Regions from separate parts of the Homo sapiens genome. Here region 2 is linked to region 1. Evidence: promoter capture Hi-C in 16 types of primary human blood cells and fetal thymus (Javierre and others, 2016). All regions are on one chromosome and are shown on one strand. The core of a region is centred on a gene start or on the middle of the fragment in contact, and the rest is flanking DNA. Distances in the headings are between cores, read along the strand shown.

Region 1 (4,336 bases), core at 1,273-3,772:
CCATATGACCTAATCACCTCCCAAAGATCCACCTCCATTACCATTACCTCGGGGGTGAGAATTTCAACATATGAGTTGTTGAGGGACACAAGCATTCAGACTGTAACAGCTGTTTAGGTAGCTACACAGCTAAATAAGTATTATTTTCCAAATCACATTTCAGCGATTTCTCTACCATTAGGCCATGGGCCAGCAATGGAACCTGGCTTATCCTTCTTGTGTTCTTCTTTTCCTGGCACAAATATGGTTGGTAATCTTGCCAAACAGTAATCTCCCTGGTATAGTTAATTTGGCCTGCTAGGTTATATCCAAACGATCACTGTATTCACCTATAAATGCTCTCAAACTGGTCCAAGGTCTAATCAAAGCTGGAAATTGATCAAATAATGACCCATTCATGCATTCTAGAATTCAGCCATTCCCTGTTGCGTTTTTAGAAACTGGCATAATTTTCTATTATTTACGCGATCTAGAGAACTATGTCATAGACCCCTGCATCATAGAACACCCAGATCTGTGGTCTCCATCTCATTCTTCCTGCTTTCTCAAAGATGATCTACACACAGTTCTATTTCCCAGACTATATAATATAATCCACTTTATGTAACATAGTGTAATTCACTTGGCCCTGGTCTCTCAGTTCTTTTGAAGAAATGAATGTTCTCACACTAATTCCTTGGTCTGTTTGTCGATCTTTACAGGCAGGGAGGGAGGATGCGAGGCAGCATTGGGTCGGCTCCACATTCTCCACATCTGCTTATTGTTTTCTTGCCTTGTTTGCAGCTTCCAGAGCTCCTCCCTGCTTCTGTAGCAATTTCAGTCTTCCCCATTCCTCTGTGCCTTTGTAAACAGCCTTTTGTTCACTAACAAGAGGAATCTGCTGCCACGTCAGCTCTAAACCAACCTCCCACCATTCTCTGGGTAAAGTCCTGCTTAGAAAGGGAATAGGAAGAAGAGGGGTGGAGGGGGTTGGAGATGATTGTGTCTAGTGGGAACAGGCAGGGGGATAGTGCACAGAGTTCACAATGGGACAACGAGCCTGCCGAGGCTGCACTGCCGGCCTGGCTGGGTGACCTTGAGCCTATCTGGGCCTGTGAGCTCACCATGCAAAGGAGCTGGACCACAGAATTCTGAGTCCTTTCTAGCTCTAAACACTGTGGCCCTAAGTATCTATATGTGAAACAAAATTGTCCTGACATTTGTCTCTGGGTACTGAACTATTAGGAGATTTTGATTTTTTCATCTCCATTTTGCAAACAGTCTGTACTAAGATTACACTACTGTGTTTCTGTTTTGTGTGTATTCAGAAGCACAAAAAGTCTGTGGTTCTAGAAAGGAAATAGAAAAGTTCTTAAAAAAAAAAAAGTGGGGAAGTGAAACAAATGTTAAAGTCAGAGGAGAAAGAAAGGCCCAACCGGAGGCCCCAAATCCACCCAGAGCCCAGAAGCCCGGGTTTCCCACCGACCGGCTGCGGTCTTTGTCAGCTCTCTGGCGCTATCTGCTGTCCTTCTCGATAACAACCGTTTAATTTGGTTTGCAAAATTGCTCTGACGCAAATCCACCGTGAACACTGACGGGGTCACATTCAGCATAAAAATCGCATTCTGTTTACAGGAAAATCTGGCCCCATACTTGCTCCCATATTCACTTTTGACTTTGCCTTGCAGTACTAACTGTAACAGGGACACCTGAGCAAGTCCCTTCTGTATAAGGCCCAAAATGGTCACCCAATACCAATGAGTCTCTTGCTTTGGAAAGCCCAGGAATGCACCTCCAGCCCCTTCTGCGCAGCGCTCGGACACCATGTAGAGGAGAAGGCACTCTGCAGAACTCGCCCTCAGCCCGCACCACCTGTCCAGGGGACTGGCTGCGTGTCAATGTGTCTCTGCTCCCGGGGTTCCCGCAGATCTTTAACTTATTGGCCTTTGGGCTAATTCAGTCCTTCAAGCATTCCTCGCCCAACATGCCAGGAAGTCTTCTCACGTGTCTTCCACCCCATACCTACCAGTTCTGTTTTCCCACTACCCGATGAAAGTGTAACCGCCCCCCGGCGCCCCCCCCCCCCACCACCACACACACACCCTGTTGGTCCCATCCTCAGGGCGTGGTGGTCCAGGTGAACGCTTGCCCTCTTTTTGAGCTGAACCTCCCCACAGAGGCTGTCAGCAAAGACTGCTTTGCTGTCCAAGGCCGGCCTTTAGGTACAGGACACTATGCATGTCCAGCGAGGCTTGTTGAAGCCACATCTGTCATAGATATTGATGGGAAAAGCATTTTCCTTCTAACACATCTCATTCCAATTCTAAAAGGCACCTCTGAAGCCTTGCTGAACTTCATCAAGATTTTCACGTGGTTTCCTTAGTAAAGTGTGATGAGAAGGTCCATCCTTCTCAGGATGAAGGAGTGGTCCAGGAAGCCCTGATTGGTCTGCCGGGGAGGGAAGGGCTGCCTTATTTGGAGACCTGCAGGAATGCCACCTCCCCCGGCAGCTCCTATATAGCTGGGCGGACCTGGCTGCCAAGAGGGTGTGCTGGGGGACTGTGCAGCTCGAGGCTCCAGAGGCACACTCCAGAGAGAGCCAAGGTACGTGGGGGGCCACTTCTGTGGTCAGGACTGCTGGTTTCTTATCAAGGCTCGATCCCAGATTGAAAATCATGCAATGATTTCTTTACTCCCACACCTGGGGATGGGTCCCAAGTTCAGGGTAGACTTGCGAGGATACCCAGTCATCACTGGGCTTGCCTTTCTCTAAGTTGGTGCTATAATAAAATGCTACTTTAGGGTTTGTGGGTTGGGATTTTGTTTTGCCTTTAAGCTTCTGCCTATGAAAACTAATCTCTTTCTCAAGAATGCTGTGCTTTTATTTTTTTTATTTGACTCACCTGAAATGATCTATTATGCCATTAATCTTATTTAAGATTTCTCCTTAAAAAAGGAATGATGTGGAGTATGGCCCTATTTAGGAGACTAATGAATATTTGCTTCATGCTTGGATCTCTTTGGAGAAAGTCAGTCTGAGTTCACTGTGCTCAGGAGGCAGAGAGAGTGGGGTGAGGGGGTCCAGATGCTCATAGCCACCCTGGGACAAAGACGAGGCGATGTCTACAAGCAAGGAAAGGTCAGTGAGGCCTCTTTGCAGGCTTCTAGAGATGACTGGATGTGCTTCTAGAGATCACTTCAGCTGTGTTTTGCCTTTTTTTTTTAATATAAGGAGCAATGTGGCATCAGAGTTGAACATTTTATCAGAGGAACATTAGCCACTTTTAGGGAAGCTGCAGCAGGGTGGTGGAGGGTGTGTGAGGGGCGAAACAAGCTCCCTGTCAGCCTCCTCCAGCTCTGGGGCCCCATGGCCTCACAGTAAGTCTTTGCCTAGGAGACAGCTTAGGCAAGCTCCGGTATGGGAACTCCTTCCATTTCCCTAATCCACACAGGCAAAGACCCAGGTGCTAGAATGCCCTGACAGTCGGCCTTGGGAAGTGGATTTCCTTGATGGCTATTGTAGATTCAGGAGCCGAATGTGACAGGCAACCTTAAGGTGTGGGGTGAGGGGCTTTTCCATGACATCAGTGGCAGCCCTTCGGATGTCCCAGGGCCACCTTGACCCGGGACCCTCCTGGTGTTCCCCCAGGCCCTCCTGTCTTCCCTTTCATCTCGTTTTCTCCGAAATTCCTCAAGGGCCCTGCCCTTTGCCCTTTGCCCAGCTCAGGGGGCATCATACCCAGTGAGTGAAAAGCACAGTGTGTGAGCACTGTCTTCTCCTGAAACCCAGATGGGCAGTGGGGCATGGCTAGTGGACACATGCAGTGCAGCATTAGACAGAGCCCAGTGCAGGTCTGCCACCTCCCCGCTGTGCAGCCTTGGGCAAATTACTTAACTTCTCTGAATCCCAGGACAACATTTATAACATGGGGATAATAATGTACCTACTCTATGTGAGAATTAAGTTAGGCAATGTCAGAGAAGAGCTTAACACGGTGGCAGGCATGAAGAAAGTATGCAATAAAAAGCCAGTAGGATAAGCAGATGGTCACACTGTCCCCCAGGGGTGAGATTGGAAAGGATGCCTGGAGCACACTTGACCCCTGGACATAGGGGAGGCAGGGGTCCCTTTGCTACGTTTCCATCTTTCCCTTCCTTCCTCCTCCTCTCTCTCTCATTACTGCAAAGCCCTTTAGGATCAGCAGCCAGTGAATTCCTCAGAATGGATGGCAGAATGCCCCCAAGACAGTGCCAGCTCAGAGCAATAAAGAACAAAGAGGGGAGATTGAAAGTACAATCTAAAGTCGGCACAGTGGCTCGTGCCTGTAATCTCAGCACTTTGGGAGGCTGAGGTGGG
Region 2 (4,463 bases), core at 1,118-3,617, 90 kb before region 1:
CAAGTGGCAAAGCTGTTGCCATTGGCATCTTTCATGTGAACCACGTCAAGAGATCCAGGGTGCCTCTCTCTGTTGGTGATCACACCAATTCTTCCCAGGTTGGCACCTCCAGTCACCATACACAGGTTACCAGTGTCGAACCTGATGAAGTCAGTAATCTTGCCAGTCTCCAAATCAATCTGAATGGTGTCATTCACCTTGATGAGGGGATCAGGGTAGCAGATGGTACGAGCATCATGAGTCACCAGATGAGGGATTCCTTTTGTGCGCACAAATATTTTTTCTCACTTTTCACAACTTGTACTTGGCCTCCTCAGGTGTAATACGATGTACAGCAAAGTGACCCTTGGTGTCACAGATCAGACAGAAATTCTCTCCCATCTTGTCAATGCTGATGACATCCATGAATCCAGCAGGGTAGGTTATATCAGTGCGGACCTTGCCATCGATCTTAATGAACCGCTGCATGCAAATCTTCTTTACTTCCTCTCCTGTCAGGGCATACTTAAGTCTGTTCCTTATGAAAATGATGAGGGGGAGACACTCTCTCAACTTGTGGGGACTGGTGGATGGATGAGGAGCAAACACACCAGTCAATTTATCCAGCATCCAATGCTTTGGAGCTGCTACCTGCTTTAGATGCTTCTTGGGACCACGAGCCATGGCTACGTTAGGCACAGAAAAAGAAAAAATAACAATTTTAAAAATTAGCCAGGCATAGTGGCACAAGCCTGTAGTCCTAACTACTCAGGAGGCTGAGGCAGGAGGATTACTTGAACCCAGGAGTTTGAGGCTGTAGTGAGCTATGACTGCACCACTGCACTCCAGCCTGGACAACAGAGATAGACCCTGTCTCTAAAAAAATAAAAAAGAAAATAATGAGGATATAGAAGAATTGAACAACACCTTCAACCAACAGGATCTAACAGAACAAACAACCCTATAACAGCAGAATACATGTGCTTTTCAAGTGCCTAGGGAGCATTCACCAAGATTAACCATGTCCTGGATTTTAAACCAATCTCAACAAATGCTAAAAAAAAATAATAAAACTAGAAATCCCTAATCACTGCCCTCTTTTCCAAGCTGCCTGTGACTCTTACCCAGATGTTCTCAATACATAAGCTTTCAACAGGGGAGAATGATAGAAATTACTGGAGAACCCCCATTCCAGGTCACTGAGGCACATGACCTTCTACTAAAGAAATAATTTCCAGTAAAAGGATACAATAAAGGGAATAGATGTTCCCACTAGGCCTGGATTAATGAGTACTCTATCTTGGAGAAAAGTGATTATTTCCAGAGCTGCCTCTGGCATTCTTCCTCCACCCAGAAGTGATGCTGTGAGAAGTGAAATTACTTATAAATCAGTAGTGCCCAAAGCACTTTATAAAGGAGGTCCCACATGTAAGCTCCACCAAGTATAAATAATAACACTAATAACACCTCCCTCATCTTGTCTTTATATCTGGGTCTTGGAGGATCAAAGCCATCCGAGAGGTACAGCTTCAAAGGCGTCTCCTTCCCAGATCCAGGAATGGGCGCACTCCAACAGGCCCCTACATCCTTGGCTTCCACATTTCACAACTGTTAGAGGCTCCAAAGCATTTACAGTGGTTGATAGAGTCTTTCTGAATATGATACCTCTTTTATAAAATTAATGGCACTATTTCCGGTGGTGGCATCAGCAAAGAAACTCCTTTTCAAGGGCAGCGTGTCCCTCCCATTGTTTGATTTTCTGCCATCCCTTTAAGTGCCTTAATGGAATGCTTGTACGAATAAAGTTGACTGCCAACAAATTTTGCTTTGAATATCTTTTACATTTCAAGGCACCCCTGGAAATAATCGGAGACTATGGGAGACATGGAATTAGGGAGCTGTGGGAAAGCAGGGTTGACAGTGTCATCTCAAGATTTGGTGGACTTCATTATTCAGTGGCCAGAAGTAGGGAGGAGGGGAGTCTGGGGCCTGAGAAGAGGGTTGCCCTGATGGGCTGGTACTGGCTCTGGAGTCACTGACTGTGCCAGGGACCAGATGCCTGCAGAAGCATGGTTCAGCGTTATACCTGCAGGGAGACGAATCACCCAAGAGTGTCTAAAACCATCCTCATAGGGATTTGTGGAACTTCAAACTTGAGAGAGATGATTTCGGGTATCTGGTGGAAGAAATTTCTAAGCAGCAAAGCATTCAAGAGGAAGCAGAGCATGGAAATTTGGAAAATTTGCAGCCTGAACATGGAATAGAAAAGAAAAACCCATTTTCTGGGGAGAAATTTAAGCCTGCTGCAGAAATTTGCATAAGTAACGAGGAGCCAAATTTTAACCTCCAAAACAATGGGGTAAGGTCTCCACGGTATGTCAAAAACCTTCATGGCAGCCCCTCCCATCACAGGTCCAGAGGCCTAGGAGGGAGAAATGGTTTCCTGGGCTGGGCTCAGGGACCCCTGCTGTGTGCAAAATAGGGACTTGGTGCCCTGCATCCCAGCTGCTTCAGCTGTGGCTAAAAGGGGCCAGAGTACAGCTCAGTCTGTAGCTTTAGAGGGTGTAAGCCCAAGCCTTGGCAGCTTCCACATAGTGTTGAGCCTGCAGGTACACAGAAGTCAAGAATTGAGGTTTGGGAACCTCTGCCTAGATTTCAGAGGATGTATGGAAATGCCAGGATGTTCAGGCAGAAGTTTGCTGCAGTGGTGGAGTCCTCATGGAGAACCTCTGCTAGGGTAGTGAGGGAGGGAAATGTGGGGTCAGAGCCTCCACACAGAGTCCTTAATAGGGCACTGTCTAGTGGAGCTGTGAGAAGAGAGCCACCATCATCCAGACTCCAGAATGGTAGATCCACCAACAGCTTGCACCATGTACCTGGAAAAGCCACAGAAATGCAGTGCCAGTTTGTGAAAACAGCCAGGAGTAGGGGACAGTACCCTGCAAAGCCACAGAGGTGGAGCTGCCCAAGGCTGTGGGAACTTACCTCTTGCATCAGTGTGACCTGGATGTGAGACATGGAGTCAAAGGAGATCATTTGGGAGCTTTAAGGTTTAATGACTGCCCTATTGGATTTCAGATTTGCATGGTGTCTGTAGCCCCTTAGTTTTGGCCAATTCCTCTCATTTGGAATGGGTATATTTACCCAGTGCCTGTACCCCCATTGTATCTAGGATGTAACTAACTTGTTTTGATTTTACAGGCTCATAGGAGGAAGAAACTTGCCTTGTCTCAGATGAGACTTTGGATTTGGACTTTTGGGTTAATTCTGGAAAAAGCTAAGACTTTAGGGTACTGTTGGAAAGGCATGATTGTGTTTTAAAATGTGAGGACATAAGATTTGGGAGGGGCCAGGGGTGGAATGATATGGTTTGGCTTTGTCCCCACTCAAATCTCATCTTGAATAGTAGTTCCCATAATCCCCATGTGTTGTGGGAGGGATGCAGTGAGAGGTAATCGAATCATCGGGGTGGTTTCTCCCATGCTGTTCTTGTGATAGTAAGTGAGTTCTCACAAGATCTAGTGGTTTTATAAGGACCATCCCTTGTAAGGGTTTTCCCCCTTTGTTCAGCACTTCTCCTTCGTGCCTCATGTGAAGAAGGATATGTTTGCTTCCCCATCCACCATGATCGTAAGCTTCCTGAGGTCTCCCCAGCCCTGCAGAGCCATGAGACAATTAAACCTCTTTCTTTTATAATAATAATAATAATAAAACCATCCTCATAGGGTTAACAAGAATTTAGATGCCAGGTTTGGGGCAGAAATATAGTTATAATTAAGCATTAATCAGGCTGCACTCTGGCCCACTTCCTTAAACTGAAAGTCATGCAGCTCAAGATACTGACTGTTTAAATCCCATTTTCCCCATAGATAGGACTTCTGATGTTAGAATCATTAGGCTTTTGTTTAAGAATTGCTCAAGATATTCTTCATATCCTGAATTCCATCAGGAAAGGCTGATGCCAATGAGTTTGAAGACCCCACGAGGAACCAAATCAGCATGAGAATGCAGTTTCTTCATCTCCCTGTCCTATGACTTCACCCTGCACTCTTCCACCAATCAACAATCCCCACATCTCAGCCCTTTCCAAAGCCCTTAATATCCGTAGCTCCAAATTCCTTAGGTTGGTGGATTTGAGGTTTCTTCCCACCTCCTCATTTAGCTCTCCTATGATTATTAGACTTTTTCTCTGCAGCAATCCCCCTTGTCTTGTTATATTGACTTGCCAGGCATTGGGCAAACGATCCTGTTACATATCCACTGAGCCATATGTGGAAGCCTCGGCCAGTGCCAGTCAATATCAAGGAATTTGGTCCATTTCTAGATAAGAATTTGGGGTTGTTGATTAGTTGGGATAAGGGGAAGGAAATCATCAGGATGTGGAAACTGCATTCTTTGGTGACTCAGCTCCTGTGAGGTCCTTAAGACCAGCTGGCATCAGTAGTTTCATTGGTATGCAGAAACTGAAAGAGTATCTCAAATGG

The links. Contacts are between HindIII fragments. The CHiCAGO score rates a contact against its expected background, and 5 or more counts as called.
Region 2: a contact is called between a fragment that was not itself captured here and the fragment with the promoter of PRND in region 1, in 1 of 17 cell types (M0 macrophages). The highest score is 5.4, in M0 macrophages.

Annotation. Positions count from the first base shown.
Region 1 is chr20:4,719,387-4,723,722 of GRCh38, forward strand. PRND (prion like protein doppel) reads left to right here and starts at 2,523. Exons shown (of 2, transcript NM_012409.4): 1 at 2,523-2,583. RefSeq lists an enhancer at 1,226-1,445. The HindIII fragment of the contact is 8,148 bases long and covers 1-2,813 here.
Region 2 is chr20:4,629,557-4,634,019 of GRCh38, forward strand. It overlaps the pseudogene RPS4XP2. Among named protein-coding and RNA genes, the nearest start is that of PRNP, 55 kb to the right of the region's middle. The HindIII fragment of the contact is 2,489 bases long and covers 1,124-3,612 here.